Linked DNA regions of Homo sapiens: regions 2, 3, 4, 5, 6 and 7 are each linked to region 1. Evidence: promoter capture Hi-C in 16 types of primary human blood cells and fetal thymus (Javierre and others, 2016). All regions are on one chromosome and are shown on one strand. The core of a region is centred on a gene start or on the middle of the fragment in contact, and the rest is flanking DNA. Distances in the headings are between cores, read along the strand shown.

Evidence for each region. The method cuts DNA at HindIII sites, captures the fragments that hold promoters and counts their contacts. A CHiCAGO score of 5 or more calls a contact.
Region 2: a contact is called between a fragment that was not itself captured here and the fragment with the promoter of GTF2A1 in region 1, in 1 of 17 cell types (total CD8 T cells). The highest score is 5.4, in total CD8 T cells.
Region 3: a contact is called between the fragment with the promoter of CFL2 here and the fragment with the promoter of GTF2A1 in region 1, in 3 of 17 cell types (total B cells, naive B cells and non-activated CD4 T cells). The highest score is 15.9, in total B cells.
Region 4: a fragment that was not itself captured here is called in contact with the fragment with the promoter of GTF2A1 in region 1 in 3 of 17 cell types (naive CD4 T cells, activated CD4 T cells and total CD4 T cells); the score reaches 13.4 in naive CD4 T cells.
Region 5: a fragment that was not itself captured here is called in contact with the fragment with the promoter of GTF2A1 in region 1 in 1 of 17 cell types (activated CD4 T cells); the score reaches 14.6 in activated CD4 T cells.
Region 6: a fragment that was not itself captured here is called in contact with the fragment with the promoter of GTF2A1 in region 1 in 1 of 17 cell types (total B cells); the score reaches 7.4 in total B cells.
Region 7: a fragment that was not itself captured here is called in contact with the fragment with the promoter of GTF2A1 in region 1 in 1 of 17 cell types (activated CD4 T cells); the score reaches 15.6 in activated CD4 T cells.

What each region holds. Positions count from the first base shown.
Region 1 is chr14:81,219,522-81,222,358 of GRCh38, reverse strand. It overlaps GTF2A1 (general transcription factor IIA subunit 1), which reads left to right and starts at 1,400. Exons shown (of 9, transcript NM_015859.4): 1 at 1,400-1,870. The coding sequence starts at 1,841. It overlaps GTF2A1-AS1 (GTF2A1 antisense RNA 1), which reads right to left and starts at 1,141. Exons shown (of 2, transcript NR_135252.1): 1 at 834-1,141; 2 at 1-720. RefSeq lists silencers at 1,236-1,535, 1,566-1,615, 2,146-2,265 and enhancers at 2,606-2,695, 2,736-2,805, 2,678-2,837. The HindIII fragment of the contact is 3,079 bases long and covers 407-2,837 here.
Region 2 is chr14:31,194,671-31,197,507 of GRCh38, reverse strand. The region is part of intron 2 of HECTD1 (HECT domain E3 ubiquitin protein ligase 1); the gene reads left to right. Among named protein-coding and RNA genes, the nearest start is that of HECTD1, 12 kb to the left of the region's middle. The HindIII fragment of the contact is 3,027 bases long and covers 1-2,837 here.
Region 3 is chr14:34,713,174-34,716,010 of GRCh38, reverse strand. CFL2 (cofilin 2) reads left to right here and starts at 1,418. Exons shown (of 4, transcript NM_138638.5): 1 at 1,418-1,473; 2 at 2,450-2,757. The coding sequence starts at 1,471. RefSeq lists silencers at 982-1,571, 1,662-1,721. The HindIII fragment of the contact is 2,283 bases long and covers 1-1,931 here.
Region 4 is chr14:36,317,808-36,320,644 of GRCh38, reverse strand. MBIP (MAP3K12 binding inhibitory protein 1) reads left to right here and starts at 8. Exons shown (of 9, transcript NM_016586.3): 1 at 8-185. The coding sequence starts at 57. RefSeq lists an enhancer at 60-319. The HindIII fragment of the contact is 1,817 bases long and covers 483-2,299 here.
Region 5 is chr14:39,097,101-39,099,937 of GRCh38, reverse strand. All of the region lies in intron 1 of SEC23A (SEC23 homolog A, COPII component), which reads left to right. Among named protein-coding and RNA genes, the nearest start is that of SEC23A-AS1, 4.6 kb to the left of the region's middle. The HindIII fragment of the contact is 1,909 bases long and covers 446-2,354 here.
Region 6 is chr14:39,166,403-39,169,239 of GRCh38, reverse strand. The region is part of intron 1 of TRAPPC6B (trafficking protein particle complex subunit 6B); the gene reads left to right. Among named protein-coding and RNA genes, the nearest start is that of TRAPPC6B, 2.5 kb to the left of the region's middle. The HindIII fragment of the contact is 2,427 bases long and covers 277-2,703 here.
Region 7 is chr14:39,183,794-39,186,630 of GRCh38, reverse strand. No RefSeq gene overlaps it. Among named protein-coding and RNA genes, the nearest start is that of PNN-AS1, 9.3 kb to the right of the region's middle. The HindIII fragment of the contact is 9,645 bases long and covers 1-2,837 here.

The sequences.
Region 1 (2,837 bases), core at 151-2,650:
GCAACTGTTAACAGGGGAATGGACTTGGCGTGAAAAGAAATGTCAAGGTTCATAGATATCCTCTACACCCATTCACAATCTCCCATTTTCTGAGTATTCAAGGCCTCTGGTTTCTCTAATCCCTTTCTTCAAGTCTTGGCAAGATGCATTTTTTTTCCTCTTTGGTAAGACGCCTTTGATATTCTTCAAATCTGGTTTCACCAGCACAGAACTTTGACGTTTCGTTTTGCTTTGTCTCTGGAAGACAAACTCCCTCACTCATCCACGCGACATTTCAAGTCCCTCAAAATTCCCAGGGACAAGAAAACTAGGTACTATGAATTCTGCCTTCCAAACAGCATTCTCTGTTCTGCTTGCAAGGTCGATATAAAGGCAGGATTTGCTTGGGCAGAACAAGTCAAAAGCTTATTGAATTGCACTTATTGAATTGAACATGGAACACAGCCGGCTTGCTCTCTTATAGCGAGAGGCCATGCGAGTTGGTGGGTCAAGGGCATGCATTTCAAAGTGATCAGTCACTATACGTTGGCCACATGGAGTCGCAGTATTTTGGCAATATTTTTAAAAACCAGGGAAAGTTACTGTGCTGTTACAATCCAAAGGCTGGTGGGGTTTTCTTCCACCCCGCATTTCCACTAGCGTGATAAATTATTTAAAGTACGTGGCCTAGTAGAGGACTAACCTCTGGGTAACATAAGCCTAGTCTTCGCAGCGTACCCACTGTGGAAACAAACGAATCAGACGTTACTAATTGTGGAATGTTAAAAGTAGGCCCCGATCGGCTTTTACTCCCTTTGGAAAATCCTACACAATTCTGCGCGCGAAAGACCCACCCTCGGTGAGGCGGTGAGGCGCGAACGCCGCGAAGCTCACAGTCAAAGCCTCGCTGACAAATCAAGAGATGACTCCGCATTTAAAACCTTCCCGAATAGGAACGCGCCAGAGGCCGGAAGCCACGCCACGTGACCAGTCCTCCTCCGCGGCCATTCCTAGCGAGGCAGTAGGCACCGCCTCTGTCACATTTCCTAGCTCCTAAAGCGCGGGACCAGGCGGAAACGTGCGACAGGAGGCGGTCCCACCTAGCTTTGGACTGGAGTGTCAGTAGAACTCCCGTCTTTTCCAGCAACGCTTTGCAAGTTCTTCACCGCAAAGAACTGCCGCAGACTTCCGCCTGGGTGCCAACCACGTGATCACGCGAGCGTTGGAGAGGCGTAGGTCCGATTTCACTACTTCACTCCCCGGGCTCCGCCAGTCCAGTACCCGCCACGGCGCGTGACAACGCGGCTCGCCGGCGGCCTCCGCCCCGGCGCGCCTGCGCACGCGGCTCTCGCGGTGTCTCGCGCTCAGCCCCGCCCACCTCTGCCCCCGCCCTTTCCGCCCCTCCCTCCCCCTTCACCCTGTCTCTCGGCGGCGGCGGCGGCGGCGGTGGTGGCTCGCGCAGCTTGTTGGCTCGCTATATAAAGGAGAGAAGCGGGCGGACCGGACGGCTGGAGCTGCAGCCGGTGGCGGCAGCGGCGGCGCAGGGAGCGGTGACCGGTGGTGGTTTCCCTCCTTGGCGCGGGGTGGGGAGCGGGCAACGCCCCCCGGACCCCTGAAGGGTCGTGGCTTTTTTTTTTTTTTTAAGGCGATTCTCGAGGTTTTCAGCTGCGGGAGGAGTGCCCCCCTCCTCCTCCTCTCTCCGCTCTCCCCTACTCCTTCAGGATTGATTTTGTTTAAAATTTTTTCCCCAATCTTGCGGTGATTTGGGTCACCCTCCGGGTGTTATAGTTTTTTTTTTTTTGGTTTTGTTTTTATCTTGTTTTCTTGGGGTTGCCCCCTCTTGTTTGTGTTGTGTGTGGAAATGGCGAACTCGGCAAATACAAACACCGTGGTAAGGACGTGGTTCGGTGGCCGGCGGGGGCTTCGTTCAGGCTGCAGCAACGGCCGGACCGGGCGGGGGCGGGGACGGCGGCGACTCCCGGCCTCGACTCTTCAGCCGCCCGCGCGGCCGCCGCCGCCGCCGCTTCCCGCCTCGGGCGGATCGGGCCGGAGCGCCGGGCGGCGGGCGCGGGGGGGCGCCGAGGGCTCGCGGCGCGGGGAGGGCGGGGGCGCCGGTGGGGCCTGGGGCCGCCGCGGGCCGGGCCGGGCCGCGGAGGCGGTTGGGCCCGGTCGGGCGCGCAGCCCCGGCCCCAGAACCCGGCCGCCGGGAGGGAGGGCGGGAGGGGAGCCGCCGCTTCCCCCCGAGGGGCCCGTCCGCGCTGGCTTGACGAGGGCTCCCCGAGTGGCTACAGAACAAAAACTGTGTGTGGGGAATCGGGCGAACCCCCGAGACCCATCGTGATCCACTTTAATGCAGTGGAAGATTAATGGTTACTTTGGGGGTTTCTTAGGTTGTTTTTGGCGGCTGTGCTTTGGGAACCTTCTCTGAGGCCATTTTATGTTTAAAAAAAGGACGAAGGTTGGTTGAAAAGCACTTATCTCAGTTCCTTCCGAATGGGTAAAATGGCGAAGGGGAAGACCCCCATCGTATCTTCGCCTAGCAGAAGCACCAAAACAAACAAAAAAAGCCTGCAGTGGTCCAAGTGTCCCCGCTTTCGCCTTGAAATTTACCTACTTCTTCCCGTTGGTCCCTTTTTGTTACTTGCGATCACGTAGGTTTGCAAAAAGCAGTCACATAAATAACCTTTTCAGTCACCAACGCAGTGTGATCACTAGTCCACCCAACTCTTATTTTTATGATGACAATAAAACACGTTTTTTGCCCGGTCCCAAATGCCGCAGACCAGCCCGCGGCCGCCCGACACCGTACCGTTGGCGACTCGGGTCTAACCATCATGGCTGCGGCCGCTTACCCTGCT
Region 2 (2,837 bases), core at 241-2,740, about 50 Mb after region 1:
TCCTAGATTATGCAGAAACTGTTGGTCAGAAAATCCCACCTTGAGTAGCAAAACCCTGATCCACTGGTGGAGAGATTGGTTTTAGGCAGAAAGAAGTTGTGTACTGCCGTTGTAACAGAGAAGATAGAGACGTTAGATGCACATGTTTTGGGTTTGATGGTAAAAAGTTAAGGGCTGGGACTGGGCGTGGTGGCTCATGCCTATCTGCAGTCCCAGCACTTTGGGAGGCCGAGGTGGGTGGATCAGTTGAGGTCAGGAGTTCGAGACCAGCCACGGTGCCTGGCCCTGAGTTATAGTCTTAAAAATTGATTTGCCTGTGCTACTCCCTTTTACAGAATCTGTTGGGTTCTTCACCTACAGGATCAAATTTAAATGTCTTCAAAGACCCCTCCTGCATATTCTCACATGTATACACTACTTCCACTTTACTATACTTTCAGTTCTCCACTGGACTACGAGCTCGTCTTTGTTTTCCCATTGCTAAGCATAGTGCCTGGCACACAAATAGCTAATATCCAGATACTGAAGGAGTGAATTGAAGAGATTGCTTATATTGGACCTGTTTTCCACCTAATGCCTAAAATGCCCATGGAAGGTATTTGTGGAGTTGAGAAACTTGTTGTTAGTATGCAGGAGGAAGAGTATTGTATTCTTTTTTGTTTTTTTTTTTAGCAGATACAGTATCAATAAGTACTTTCCTTACTTTCTACCATTAATATACCTGCCTTTTCTTTCTTTTTTTTTTTTTTGTTTTGAGACGGAGTCTTGCTCTGTCGTGTAGGCTGGAGTGCAGTGGCGCAATCTCGGCTCACTGTAACCTCTGCCTCCCGGGTTCAAGCAATGCTTCTGCCTTAGCCTTCTGAGTAGCTGGGACTACAGGCGCACACCACCATGCCCAGCCAATTTTTGTATTTTTTAGTAGAGACAGGGTTTCACCATATAGGCCAGGCTGGTCTCGAACTCCTGACCTCGTGATCCTCCCGCCTCGGCCTCCCAAAGTGCTGGGATTACAGGTGTGAGCCACTGCGCCCGACCTGTACCTGCCTTTTCTATATTGACCTGTTTTCTTCTACCCAATGGCAGAGTAATAGGGAAATGAATTACTTTTGTTGATCAGCCCTGACCCTTTACTGGAGAAGGAATGTTCATTGATATATCAAATATGTATAATCCTCAAGAGTTAAATAAATGAGCTGAACACGGTGGCTCATGCTTGTAATCCCGATACTTTGGGAGGCTGAGTCAGGTGGATGACTTAAATTCCGGAGTACAAGTCCAACCTGGCCAACATGGCGAAGAAACCCCCTCCCTACTAAAAATAGAAAAATTAGCAGGGTGTGGTGGCACATTCCTGTAATCCCAGCTTCTCAGGAGGCTGAGGCACGAGAATCGCTTGAACTCGGGAGGTGTAGGTTGCAGTGAGCCCAGATTGCACTACCACACTCCAGCCTGGGAGACAGAGTGAGACTCCGTCTCAAAAAAAAAAAAAAAGTTAAATGAATTCCTGTAAACAGACAGCAACTGTGTATGTGCTTCTTTTCAGTGGACAGCAGAGAGAAGTGCTGGAATGAGAAACACTGTCTGTGAGGGTTTACCTGGGACTCCAGGGGGTCCATAGGTGATTAAATTCAGGGAGCTTTTGTGACGATTACCAGAGTTTCTGTCAGCTAAAAAAATGTAGAGGCCAGGCTCCACTGGTGGCTCATGCCTGTAATCCCAGCACTATGGGAGGCCAGGGCGGGTGGATCACCTGATGTCGCGAGTTTGAGACCAGTCTGGCCAATATGGTGAAACCCCATCTCTACTAAAAATACAAAAATTAGCAGAGGTCTGGTGGCATGCGCCTGTAATCTCAGCTACTTGGGAGTCTGAGGCAGGAGAATTGCTTGACCCTGGGAGGCGGAGGTTGCAGTGAGCCGAAATTGCACCACTGTGCTGCAGCCTGGGCTACAGAGTGAGACCTTGTCTCAAAAAAAAAAAAAGTTAAAAACCACTCTTAATAGTTTCAACAGGAAAAATACAAGGAAAATTTATCAGAGATAGATTTTTATCATTTTTATTTATGGGTATGACATTGTGTTTTATAACGCTTTGTAAGTGTACTTTGCATAGTTCTTGACTGTATCATTAGATTGAATTCTTCAGAGTCAGTGAACTCTTTCTTACTCATCTTTGTGTCCCACCCCCAACACTTAGCATAGCACTTGGTGTAGAAAGGCATTCAATAGATGTGTTGAATGAATTGCAGTCAAATTTGTATGTGTATTTTAATTGGAGAAAAGCAAACTTACATCTTATAATTGGACTTTACCCCCTTTTTCTTTGCAAGGGAAAACCACAATTTTCAGCTGCTGTACCAGGAGTTATTTTTAGCTCAGCAATACCAAGAAAGTCAAGGCTGGGAGCAGAGGCAAAAATGGAATATGAAATGGATCAAAAGATGTTGCGTTATTTATTGTCTTTAAGAAACCAGATGTGTTCAGGTTTTTCAGTTAAAATATTTCATTTTTTTAAAATGAAGTGCCTGATTTACAGACTATTTTATAAAATATCTCTACTACAGATAATGCCCTTTATTTTTTTTAAAAACAGTTATATTCTTTCATGTCTTTGCCAATCTTCTGAAATCTTGGCCCAAGTTCAAGTGAAAAAAGCATATGGTAGTTATAATACAGAAAATATTACAGTTCCCAGGGAAATTCTTTCTCTTTGGAACCTCATGTAACCTTTTTTTATTGCTTCCATCAGGGAAAGATTCTGATGTCTTTACAGGTAGCATTTTGGAAACCAGTGCCTAATTTGGAGTCATCTGAAGATTCTTCATAATCTCACTTGTG
Region 3 (2,837 bases), core at 169-2,668, about 47 Mb after region 1:
ACTTTAGGCCCCAGTGTCATCAGACCTGGTCTCTGCTGGGGCTGCTGCAAATCTCTGAGGTTGGGAAGGGAAGGTAACCGCAAGATGAAGCGAACAGGAATTTGCTAATACCTACACATAGCAGATGATCAGAGCTCTGGAGAGACATTCTCCATGACTTCTTGGAAGTTCAACAGATAAAGTGAAAGGTTCCATAAATTGTAATGTACCAGCTAGATATAAAGTATTATCCACTTGCTTGGGATTCATGCTTAGACATTGGGAAATCCCTTCTCAATTTTTGTCTCTAAACGAAGTCTATCTTCCAATTAAGAAAACAAACCCAAGATATAGACAGAAAAATAGGTCTGTTTCAATGCCTAGCATGTTCCATTTAAAATACAGTAAATTTGGGCTGAAAGAACTTATCACGCAATCTAGGGCAAACACCATCTCATGACTTTCCTGCCTAACCTCAATCCTGAGACCACCAAAAACACACCATTTCCTACTGAACATTGATATACTCAGAAACTGAAATCTAAAGCTGGAAAGGGCCTTAACGATAATTTAATAACAGTTTGTTTTACACATGAAGAACCCTGAGGTATGGAGGAGTTAAGATTAAAAAAAGAGAAACTGCCTTGGCGCAGTTATATGGGCTTTGCTAGAAGAGGCTGCGTCGGCTTATTTGATATCAGCTGTCATAGCTGGAGCTTCATGAAATCTCTAAGAGAGAGTACAATCCATTTCCTATGAAGTCTAAAATGTAAAAGGATATTACTAAGGAATGCTACCACGTAATTTTTTAATCATAATTATTATTTCAACCAGAGTTTTGAAAAGTGATTTACCAACACTGCGTATCATTTTGTTTTTGCTAAGTACTATCAACTGGAGCAATCTCGTGTAGTATTTATTCTCATTTATCTCTAAACAACTGGGGGTTTTCCAAAAAGACTCAAAATGTCGAAATCCAGCCTCTTTCGGGAAAACCACAGGTAAATAAGGAAAGACACCTTCGCAGGAGTTCCCCTCACACGCACCCACCCCTGGCGCAGGGCCCTACGGAGGCGGTGGAAACGCCCCTCTGGGAGCCCAGCACTCTCTCCCACCGGCTTGACGGGTGATGCTCGGGGGCTGGAGGCGGCTCTGCCAGGCTCCCGGGCTCCGCTACCACCGCGTCGCCCCCCCCGGCCTGCAGGGCTCGCGCTCTGAGGTCAGGCCGAGGACGCGGACAGCCGGGGAGCCGGGGCCGCGAGACAGAAGGGCCGGCCTGGGAGCGGGTGGCGCCGGCTGGGGACCAGGCGTGCCCACGTGACCGCCCCGCCCGCTGCCTGCGGCCCGCCGAGCCCCGCCACCTCCCTCGGGCTGCAGCTCCCGGCGTGCCCCGCACTCTCCGCTGCCCACCCGCTCGCCCGCCCCTCCTTCTCCTCCCAGTGCCACAGAGCCGAAGCCCGAGCTGCCGCCGCAGCCACAGCCGAGGGCACTATGGTAAGACGAGCGCGCTGGCCGGGAGGCCGCGGCGAGGCGAGAAAAGCCCCCCGCACGGCCCCGGGAGTGAGGCCGCCATTTTAACCTGATTTTGGCCTCCAAGGTGGGCGCTTCTGCTCTGCGGCTCCGCTGCTCTCCAGCCGACCGGCCTGCCCTCCGGCCGTCAGGCCCTGCCCTGCTGCTCTTTGGATTTTGGGGGGCGGGGAGGGCCCGGGCGTCGGCGCAGGTTGGGGGTCGGGGCCGGGCGGGCGGGGGCGCGAGAGGGTCTGCGGACTGCAGCCGCTCGCGCCGCCTTTGCCCTTCGCTTCCTAATTTTACTTAACACGCGAGGCTTTAAAATTGGTACGTGCTGCGAACGCTGTGTGGGTCAGGGTCTGGACGGCCTGTAATAAAACCCTTACGGGGAGATTAAGGAAGAGGGAAAACACTTTTTAAAATGCTTTCTCGCCGTAAAAGCTTTTACACTCGATCAGTTAGTTTTGGAGTGTCTGCATGTGAGCTGTGTGTGGGCCGTGGGCGGTTTGGAGTTTACACTTGATTCTCTTTCCTTATGAGGAAACGTCAGTGGCTAGGATGACTTTAAAGAAAAAAATAGTAGAAGCATTAACTGAAATCCAAAAGTGTTTTTTTAAGGCCAGCCGAGTTGACACAATACAGAAGGTATTTTTGCTGCCACTCCTGAAGCTCTGACATCACCCAGTGAAATAGGAAACATTTCAGGGATGGGACAACTTGTATTTGTCCCTTTCGCTTCCACGTCCAAACCCCTTTAAGAAGGATGAATGGGCAGGATGAGTTAGACTCCTTCGCTGTATCGTCTACTGATTCTTAAAATGTGACAAATCTGATTGGACGACTTACATGGTACGGTGCAATTTTTGATGTCCAGACTAAAGTGAGTCTTCTCTAGGCAAACAGTAATTTTGGTTAAAACCAAAATACGTGTTCTGAATTACTGTTCTGTGTTTATTTTCAGGCTTCTGGAGTTACAGTGAATGATGAAGTCATCAAAGTTTTTAATGATATGAAAGTAAGGAAATCTTCTACACAAGAGGAGATCAAAAAGAGAAAGAAAGCAGTTCTCTTCTGTTTAAGCGATGACAAAAGACAAATAATTGTAGAGGAAGCAAAGCAGATCTTGGTGGGTGACATTGGTGATACTGTAGAGGACCCCTACACATCTTTTGTGAAGTTGCTACCTCTGAATGATTGCCGATATGCTTTGTACGATGCCACATACGAAACAAAAGAGTCTAAGAAAGAAGACCTAGTATTTATATTCTGGTGTGTAAAAACAAAAGAAAAAAGTACTTTTAAAATGCAAGGATTATTATTATCATAGTCAGTCTTACCTTTGTTTTTCT
Region 4 (2,837 bases), core at 142-2,641, about 45 Mb after region 1:
CGGGGTTGTGAGCAAATCTTGGTGGTGGTGGTGGTGGGGCGGCCTGAGAAGATATCATGGCTGCTGCCACGGAGCTTAATCGCCCGAGCAGCGGTGACAGGAACCTGGAGCGAAGATGCAGACCCAACCTCTCCCGAGAGGTGCTCTACGAAATCTTTCGCTCCCTACACACCCTGGTTGGACAGGTGAGAGGTGGCCTGAGGGACTGGGAATATGGAAACCATCCGGTCCCTCCTCGCCATTCTTTTTCTCTAGCAGAGGCCGGGGGCAGCTAGGCCTGCAGAGGTGTGGGATGCGGTCCCGAAGCCGAGGTGTGGAAGGAGCCCGGGCCCAGCCTCCTCGGTCGGAGTGAGGAGGACGGCGGTACCGGTTGCAGAGTCGTTTACCTTGCAGCTGTCCTCCCCAAGAGTGGGTGAGGTTGGCCTAAGTGAAAACCCGGCTCCGAGAGAGGCAGGCTTGGAGAGAATGAATGTGGAAAAGCTTCACTGCGAGTTTAGGAGGCGCTTAGCGTTCAGGGTCCTTTTTCCTCCAACTTACTCTTTATGGGAATTGGTTGGTCAGTAGGCCTGAGATTTATAGAAAAGCGCGCGCTTATTAGCTTTTTTTGGTGGGGGAGGGAGTAATTTGTTCTTATGAGTTACTTGGTTTTGTTTATTTCTTTTTTCCTTCGGGCTGTTTTGCGCATCTATAATCCTTTCAAATGGGGAGAAAAGTAAAAGGAATTCATTTAAAATACTTCTAGCGTAAAATGCTGTTGGCGTTAGAACTGTCGTTATTTAACTATTAACTAGTTTAACTGGCTGATAAATCGCTTTTGCAGAAATGTCATAGTAAAATTGGTTTTAAATTGAAATGGGCTTCTTCGATCAAGTCACTGTTTCGTTTCATGGTGTAAAATTCAAGTTTTAAATGAGAAACAATTTAAAAGTATGCTTGTTTACCTGCCTTTTAAAAGGAAATATTTTCTATCTTACATAGACCATTTTCTAGCCGTAAAAGTTTGTTTTGGGGCTGGTACTAGCGCAAGTGGACAAAGCAGGCATTTGTGTCAAAGATAATGGTAAATTCCTATGAAAATAGAACATTTGTCTGATTTGTGAAAATTATTTTTAAAGCCTTGAGTAGATGGAGAATCAGTCTTTTAAGAAGTTACTATTTTTAAAAATCGTAGTATGTTGTGTCTTACAAAGAACATTACTGTAAGTTAAACGGTTTTATGAAATGACGCAGTTATTAATGGAGTCTGCTTAAAGATATAACTTTTAAATTCAGTTGTTTGCCAAGTACTTACCAAAAACATTTTTTAAAGACTTGGGGTGTTTTGTTATTAACATTCCATTCTTAAGACCCAAGACGTTTAAATGGTTTAAAAGTTAGAGAACTTTTTATGGCGACGTTGGAACTTAAGTTTATTTATTTTATAATGTCAAGATGAAAAAAGTTTATTCTCACCTGTTAACAGAAGATGGAATATTTTTAAAAAATACTGAGCAATGATTTAAACATTTCTTTTGAAATATTTTGCATACTGAATTTTTCAAACTCATTAGAAAATTTTAAACATTCAAGTACTGTACAAGTAAAGAAGTGATTACAATTTACTTATGTCACCTGTCAAAAATGTTCACAGTAAATATTTGGTTACTTTACCATGACACAGTGAAGGGACCTCCTATACAAGTGTCAAAAATATGATTGTTTCATCAATTAAATACAAACTGTTTTCATAATACTCTATATTTTGAGAAGTGTTAAGAGTGAAAATTAGAGTTCCATACTTATAAAATTGCCCCCAGAGAAATCAGTATTTTCTTTTGCAACCACTTTAAAGGATATTTAGAATGTATGTTGTAACATGCCTAACTTCATCCTGTGTCATCCCTAAGTATCGTTGTATTATTAGATCTCCTCAGTAGGAAACATAAAACTGAATGTTAAAAATAATTTTTTACTTAAGATCACAAAATTTACTAATTTTAACCTTTTTGCTTGCCTCTGGATGGTCCATCTTACCAAGCTAAACAATTATTTATTTTTAGCTTGGATTTTTGTATTAATTTAGTAAAGTTTTTACTGAAAATATATATTTAAATAGTCTATATTAATAGCAGACTAATAGAGATTTTCGAGTGAGTGGTTTACTCTTCCAAGTTCTGTAGGGCAAAATGCATAGAGTTCATATTACTAATAATGAATTTGTTGAATGAATAGTTAGATGTATTAGGACAGTTTTAAAATTAATTTGTGACATTATGTGGTTTTCTTAAAAGACTAATTATTCTTAATTGCACTTGAAGCTTATGTAATTCTGCTGAATTGAAATGAGAATATGAACCAAACATTAAGACTTATTTTTCTATAAGTTATTTTCTCTAGAAAATGTGATACTTTGCTTTGGTTGAGGATTTGCCTGCTTTATCCCCAAGCTGTATTCTTAAGTTTTCTATAATCAACTATAGATCTCCTTGAAGACTATGAAAGTACATTAATGGGTTACTTCCATACATAATACAGGTTGTTGTCTAACAAAATCTTTATAGGAATTAAAGTAATATAAATTAATGCATTAACTTTAATGTACAATCTTAATATATTCTAATCTTTGCCAGTGCAGCCTACATGAAATTTCATATCTCTTTATACTTGTCTAATATGGACTTTTAAATGCTTCCATTCTCATCTTCAAAGGGCAGTAAATTTCTGTCACATAGTATTTATTCAATATATTATCTTTTTATTGGTAACCTTATATCTTTTTGATCTTTGTACAGTGATTCATCTTTTTTATTATAATTGTGACTCATAAAATCTGTATTTGAACTCACGTAACACCTTTA
Region 5 (2,837 bases), core at 151-2,650, about 42 Mb after region 1:
GGTCCTAAGGCAGTGGTTTTCAGAACCCCTAACTTAAACATTATTGAGTATCCAAAGAGAAAAAAAAAAGGCTAAATAGAAGACAGGTGGGTTTTCATATCTGTTTCTGCAGTTTATTGTGATATATTGTTTTGGTTGAATTGTATGAAGGATTAATTAATAAATTAAAAGGTTAATTGCAGTGTGGAATCTGAAAGCTTAGGAGTGACCTTTTTGTACTTTGTTACCTTAAAACTCATTGGCCTATTCTACACTTTGAATGGATCATCTACCCATGTGTGATATTTTCATATCACAAATTGACGGTTTGGAAGATATTGCTTCACTGAGTAATGTATATCTTCTAAATGTTAATACATTTTGTTATATACTATCAAACAAATTACATTAATACCAACACTGATCTCATCAGAAAAATCTTTACATATTAGGAACTTGTCAAGCTTATGGTAGCAGGCACAAGTTTTAAAACAATTTAATGGCGGGGAGCGGTGCCTCAAGCATGTAATCCCAGCACTTTGGGAGGCCGAGGCCGGCGGATCACGAGGTCAGACAATTGAGATCATCCTGGCCAACATGGTGAAACCCTGTCTCTACTAAAAATACAAAAAATTAGCTGGGTATGGTGGCACGCGCATGTAGTCCCAGCTACTTGGGAGGCTGAGGCAGGGGAATCGCTTGAACCCGGGAGGCAGAGGTTGCAGTGAGCTGAGATTGCCCCACTGCACTCCAGCCTGGTGACAGAGTGAGACTCCGTGTCAAAAAAAAAAAAAAAAAAAAAAACCCAAAAACAATTTAATGTTTGCTTGAAAGCTCAAATTTTTATCATTGGCAAAAAATACTATAAGTTGTTTTCTATGAAGTGATAGGTTTACTTCATACATTTTTGAGAAAATATCTGTGTAATACCTAAGTACTAGTTATGTACTATCCTTGGGAGAATTGAGAAAACAGTCATTGAAAACATTTTTTGTTTTGTGTTTCAGCTATTTTAATGCCTTTTGCAGATGTGTTTTAGATGCATTTTATTTTTTTTTTTTGTTATGGCACATTAGAATTTTTATTTTTTCTTAATAACACTGGATTTCTTATGACTTATTTTTTGTCAAATGTAGTCATCCCTGTTCTGATTTCATTTTATTTTATTAAATTTTTTTTTTTTTTGAGAAGGAGTCTCACTCTGTCGCCCAGGCTAGAGTGCAGTGGCATGATCTCGGCTCACTGCAACCTCCACCTCCCGGGTTCAAGTGATTCTCCTGCCTTAGCCTCCTGAGTAGCTGGGATTACAGGCACTCACCACCAGCTCAGCTAATTTTTGTATTTTTGGTAGAGATGGGGTTTCACCATGTTGGCCAGGCTGGTCTTGAACTCCTACCTCAAGCGATCCGCTGGCCTCAGCCTCCCAAAGTGCTAGGATTACAGGCGTGAGCCACTGTGCCTGGCCTTAAAATTTTTTTTATTTTTAATTTTTGTGGGTACATAGTAGGCGTGTACATGCTTCTTAAATTATAGGAGCAATTAAGTAGTAAACACAATTTTATTTGCCTTATGTTCTGTATAATAAATGTGGAAGAGGTTTGCATAGTCTTAGAATTTATATTCACATCAGTAACATGGAAGCTGTTGCTAAAAACTGGATTTCTAATCTCCCCCTCACCCCCACGTCCTGGTTGTTTTTTCTTTATTGCCACCTATGTTACGGTGGAGTTTGACATCTTCTAACTCTCCTCTGAATATCCCACACCTTTGTTTTATCATTATCTTTCAACACTTTTCCTTGAAAGCTCATACCACCCTTCTCAAAGCTGCCTTCTATATTTACCTTCAAAATAGTTTTGTTTTTTTTTTTGAGATGGAGTCTTGTTCTGTCGCCCAGGCTGGAGTGCAGTGGTGCAATCTCAGCTCACCACAACCTCTGCCCCCCCAGTTCAAGCGATTCTCCTGCCTCAGCCTCCTGAGTAGCTGGGATTACAGGTGCATGCCACCCTGCCCAGCTAATTTTTTTGTGTGTTTTTAGTAGAGACGGGGTTTTGCCATGTTGACCAGGCTGGTCTTGAACTCCTGATCTCAGGTGATCCACCTGCCTCAGCCTCCCAAAGTGCTGGGATTACAGGCTTGAGCCACTGCACCCGGCCCAAAATAGTCTTTTCTAAACAAGTTTAGTCTTGGGATTTCTCTTTACCCTTTATGCACCTTTGAAAAACCACAATCTTTTTTGATTAGCGTAAGATTTTCTAGCTGTCTCCAAGATTCTGGCACAATTGGAGGAAATACAGTGTTTTCTTTAATTTTTATTTTCTTATTTAAAGAAGAGAAAGTTCTTAACTGCTTGGAATGCTTAGATTTGTTAAGCTTCACTTTCTGCCATTTGTTTTATGAAAATTTATTTGAAAGATTTTCTAAAATTAAAATTGTTATATCTAACTTTTTCCCCCCAAATAATATCTCTTCTTTCTTCACTTAAATTTTAGAATCAGCTTCTTGTCCCACTATTGCTCTTAGCAACTTTAAACATCCATGTTGGGTTTTCCAGGCACCCTAGGTTCACAGTTCACTTCTTTCAACTTGACGTCCTTCCTGTCTGCTGCATAACACTTGAATGTCTTTGTCCTCCCACACCTTTAAATTCTTCAGCTTCCTTCCATGACTAACTACTGTTGCAGTTTGAGAGCATGAGATAGAGCTGTTGCCTACGTAGGAAAGCCGGCATCCTACCTAGGCATTTAGACAGTAAAAATGGAGCTGTCTTTTGATACTGGTCCCTCCCCAGAGTGCATCCTCTTCCCTTGGTTAGTAAACTTAAATTATTATACTGAAATTTTATATCTCAAATTGGA
Region 6 (2,837 bases), core at 241-2,740, about 42 Mb after region 1:
TAGTGATTTAATGAATAGTTAACACTGAGTATTGGCTGGTAGAATCATGGAGTTGTAACGGATTTTAGAAATACTCCAAAGTCATGCTCAAGTCAGGAGCCCTTTCTTTAATGCTATTGATAAAAAATGAGTGGAGAGTGGGGATAGGAAATGTATCCTAGGCAAAGATAAAGTGGTAGAGGTATGAAAGAGTGGTGGATTTAAATACACTTAAGCATTTCTTTGGACTAGACTGAATAGAGAGTGAGAAGAATTGAGAGGTGAAGTTAGAAAGCTTTGTGTAATTAAAGAATTCGGATCTTTTCGAGGGAATATTTTTAAGGAAGGGAATGATGTGGACCATTTGCATTTTAGAAAAGTAATCCAGTGTTTGGGCTAGAGAGGGAAGATCCTTGTAGGGGGAAAATCCTTTATTACGGGAGTCACTGCAGGAGGAGATGAAGATCTGGATTAAGACAGGGATAGTGAGAAAAGGAGATAACAGATTTGAAAGTTAGAAAGTGGAATTCTGTAGGCCTTGTTTAAGGATGGGAGTGGGAGTTGAAAATTATCGTCAGGTTTTCAGCTTGAGCAGCTGGGTTGGATGGTGGTACTATTAATCAGAAAAGGAAATAAAGGAGAAGAAAAAAATAAGGAGGTAAGATAATGAGTTATTTCGGGGCAGGTTGAACTTTTGAGGTGCCTGTATGACATCCAAAAAAAGGTACTGCCAGTTTGCACAAGAAGGATAGGCAGGATACATTTGGAAGGTTATTGGAAATGAAGCGAATTCTATTCTTATTCAAATGACCCATCTATAATAGAGATTTTTTTCAAGTCACAAACTTCTGACTTTATTATTGACCTCAAGGTTTACTGTTTGTGCAAAGCTAGCCTTCCTTTTCCCTCTAGAACAGTTAACACACCCCTTTTACTTTTTTGTCATAACCCCCGATCCCCCCAAACCACTTGCGTATTCAGTTCTCTTCATTCTCCCCTCCCTTCTTACCTTTCCTCTTCTCTCTCTCTCTTTTTTTTTTTTTTTAGATGGAGTTTTGTTCTTGTCTCCCAGGCTGGAGTGCAGTGGTGTGATCTCAGCTCACTGCAGCCTCCGCCTCTTGGGTTCAAGCGATTCTCCTGCTTCAGCCTCCTGAGTATCTGGAATTACAGGTGCCGGCCACCATGCCTGACTAATTTTTTTGTATTTTTAGTAGAGACGGAGTTTCACCCTGTTGACCAGGCTGTTCTTGAACTTCTGACCTCAGGTGATCTGCCCGCCTTGGCCTCCCAAAGTGCTGGGATTACAAGCGTAAGCCACTGCGCCTGGCCCTTTTCTGACTCTTGTCTAGAATAATATTTTTTCTTCTTTTTAAAATATCTTTTTTTTTTCCCGTGGGTTAATCCTAAATAAAATGAACAGAGCTGTTCTACTCAGGCCTGATAATTTTAAGAGATGGACTAACATACAAGAGAAAGGAAGTTCATAGTTTTGAATCATTTAAGCTAAAAATAACTTTCTTTTTCTACTGCAGTGTATTTATGATGGGGGGGAAAATTGAAAGTACATAATAAGCAAAAATTATATAAATAACAGTTATGTGGTAGTCTTCATAATCAGAACCCATACTGAAATACGGGTATATAAGGGTTCACATTAGTGTCCATACTTTGAGTGTGCTTGAAATTTTTCATCATGAAAAATGTAAAAGATACATAATCCTGTCATCCAGAGGTGATTTTTAGAGATTTTTTTCAGACATAAAAAGATCTGTAAAAACTATGTTGTTTATGTCTGAAAAGACCTATAAAATCCATTTCTCGCTGACAGGATTATGTGTCTTTTTTTTTGTTTTTGTTATGGAAAGTTTTTTTAAATGAAATAAAGTTTTATAAATTTTCAGTATAGCAAAATAAACTTCCATAAGACTTGAGGTGAGATAAAAGAAAGAAACAGTGTTCTAACCCTCCAAATCAAGGTTTTTCAAACTATGCTTAAAGAGGAATTCTCTTAAAATGGACTAATTGGGCATTTCTCAATTTATGGTGAATGGATTTTGAAAGGCTAATGGATAAAATGTTCTCAAGTTGAATTTTTCTTAAAAATTTGGTGCCTACTCAAAAGTGCATGAACAAGTAGCAAAATTAAGTAGTAGGGCTTAATTCAAAAGCTCATGTGATCATAGGATTTGAAAGTGTCTGCATATAAGCATATTGTAACTGCCCAGTGGGTTCTTCTTCCCCACTGCCCAGGTAGAGCTGATCTATCAAGACAGGAGAATTGCAATAAGGAGTTTATGTAGAGCTGCTAAATGGGAGAGCAGAGTTTTATTATTGCTCAAATCAGCCTCCCCAAACATGCAGAGTCTAGGGTTTATCAAGGATAGTTTGGTAGGCTGGGGGCTGGGGAATGGGTGCTCCTGGTTGGTTGGGGATGCAGTTACAGAGGTGGGGGCCAGAGGACCAGTTGGAGTCATCCGAAATGCAAAAGTCTGAAAAGACATCTCAAAAGGCCTTTTTTAGGTTCTACAATAGTGATATTATTTACAGGAGTAATTGGGGAAGTTACAAATCTGTGACTTCCAGAATAATGTCTGATTATCATTTAACTACCTACATTTTAGCAGAATTCAGACCCCTCTCATAAGCCTAACCTTATAGTCTTTCATTAGTTTTGCAAAGGTGATTTAGTTTCGGGAAGGGCTATTATCATTCTTGCTTTAAGCTTACACTATAAACTAAATTTCTCCCAAAGTTAGCTTGGGCTGCATCCAGAAATGACCAAGGGCAGCTTGGAGGTTAAAGGCAAGATGGAGTTGATTAGGTGAGATCTCTTTTACAGTCATGATTTTCTTACTGTT
Region 7 (2,837 bases), core at 148-2,647, about 42 Mb after region 1:
CTGCACAGCACACAAAATATTTACAAAAAATGTCACAGAAACTGTTGTTTCCATTATTTGGAAGAAAACGAGGACAAATTTCAGGATGTGACTTGGCTCATTGTTTCAAACATATTTGGATGTGCTGAAAGAGAGGAAAGAAAGTGGGAAAGAGAGACCAAGCCACTTAACACCAAGGATTTTTTTTTTTTTTGATGGAGTCTCGCTCTGTCCCCCAGGCTGGAGTGCAGTGGTGCCATCTCGGCTCACTGCAAGCTCCGCCTCCCGGGTTCATGCCATTCTCCTGCCTCAGCCTCCCGAGTAGCTGGGACTACAGGTGCCCACCACCACGCCTGGCTAAATTTTTTATATTTTCAGTAGAGACGGGGTTTTCACCATGTTAACCAGGATGGTCTTGATCTCCTGACCTCATGATCAGGGGCCCGCCTCAGCCTCCCAAAGTGCTGGGATTACAGGCATGAGCCACCGTGCCCGGCCAACACCAAAGATTTTGGGACAGTCATGGCAAGGAGTGGCAGCTATTACAAATTTGAATAGGGTAGTCAACTGGCCATGGAAAGTGGAGTTGCAGGCATTTGAGTATCATCATTTTTTTTAGTATAATTATTTAAGTTCCTTTTTTGAAAAGATTGGCTGGACATGGTAGCTCACACCTGTAATCTTAGCACTTAGGATGGCCAAAATGGGAGGATCGCTTAAGCTCAGGAATTCGAGACCAGCCTGGGCAACAGGGCAAGACTCTCATCTCTATTTAAAAAAAGAAAAAAAAAAAAAAGTCCTGCTAGCTGAGACAAAGACAGGCGTAAGAAAAACATTCTCAGATACCTCGTTTATTTTTACCAAGTTGTAGTCTCTACCCCACTGGCTTACTAGAGTAGTGGTATTGAATCAAATACATAGCTACATTTTCTGGGCTATGTGATTTAATAACATTCATTTTAACCTCAAAAAGGGAAAATGGGTTGGATTTGTCGTTGGATTTCAGAAGATATTTTAAAGTTTGACTAGTCATAAAAAAATTCTTACACAATATTAGCCATAAAAGAAATTCTTGTTTATGTACTTTAAACCCACATCTTGACTGACTCTAATAGCATTGGCCCATGTAATCACTACTCTCTTTCCTTTTGAATTTATGTCAATACATTATTGGTATGGTGGCTTTTGCTTTGCCCAAATTACCTGAGTAATCATGTAAATTGTTATCATTCTACAGATAGTGTGTAGAAGGACCCTAGATTGGAAATACAGCTCATTGAAGTTCAAACTATCTTTATTTTGGTGGTTACCCAAACCTTGGTATCTTAAAAGATGTTTCCTTAATAGCCCCTTAGACATCTCTGCCAATTTTTTTTTTAGACAGTCTGTCACCAGTATGGAGTGCAGTGGTGCCATCAAAGCTCACTATAACCTCAAACTCCTGGGTTCAAGCAATCCTCCCACCTCAGCCCCCGAAGTAACTAGAACTACAGGTACACACATGGCTAAATTTTTCTATTTTTTGTAGAGATAGATTCTTGCTGATGCCCAGGTCAGTCTTGAACTCCTGGCTTCAAGCCATCCATCCTCTACCCTCAGCCTCCCAAATTGCTGGGATTACAGGTGTGAGCCATAGCACCCAGCCTGTCTTTCCTAATACAGCTCTAAACTGATTTCAGTCCTAACTCACCATCTCTATCCCCTTTCAGCTCCTAAGTTTTCCATAAACACTATTTGGGTTTTTTTGTTATTTTTTAGACAGGGTCTCACTCTGTCACCCAGGCTGGAGTGCAGTAGTGTGATCATAGCTACTTCACCTCAACCTCCTGGGCTCAAGCAATCCTCCTGTCTCAGCCTCCAGAGTAGCTGGGACTCAGGCTCATGCCACCACAATCGGCTAGTTTTTCTCTTCGTAGACAGTTTTTTGCCATGTTGCCGAGGTTGGTCTCTGGCTCCTGGGCTCAAGCAATCTTTCCACCTCAGCCTCCCAAAGTGTTGGGAATTACAGGCCACTGCACTCAACCATAAACACTAATTTGTAATCTCCAGTAGGAAGACTACTGCGTGTTAGCCGGGCGCCGTGGCTCATGCCTGTAATCCCAGCACTTTGGGAGGCCAAGGCAGGCGGATCACGATGTCAGGAGTTCGAGACCAGTCTGGCCAACACAGTGAAACCCCCAACTCTACTAAAAATACAAAAAAAAAAAAAAAAAAAAAAATTAGCCAGGTGTGGTGGTGTGCGCCTGTAATCCCAGCTACTTGGAAGGCTGAGGCAGAATTGCATGAAGCTGGGAGGCGGAGGTTGCAGTGAGCCGAGATCGCACCACTGCACTCCAGCCTGGGTGACAGAACGAGACTCCATCTCAAAAAAAAAAAAAAAAAAAAAGACTACTGCATGTCTTTTCCCCCTGGGAAACTGTCATTACTTTTACATTCTTCTTCCTTGTGTCTCTTCAAGTGCAATTCCATGGTTCTCTGAACATTAAGTTCCATAAAATTTTAGTTCAAGGATAAAGCACTGATCGGAAACAAAAAAATCTAAAATACTATATTTAAAAAATTAAACCTTCCAACCTAAAAATGAATACCACTTAAAAATGTTAGTACAATCTGTTATTAAAATTCCTGTGCTCACTTCAGCAGCACATACTAAAATTGGAACACAGACCAAGAGTGGTGGCTCACGCCTGTAATCCCAGCACTTTCAGAGGCCAAGGCAGGAGTAACGCTTGAGCCCAGGAGTTCGAGACCAGCCTGGGCAACATAGTGAGATCCTGTCTCTACAAAAAATAAAAAATTAACTGGGAATGGTGGTGCACACCTGTAGTCCCAGGTACTTGGTAGGCTGAGGTGGGAGG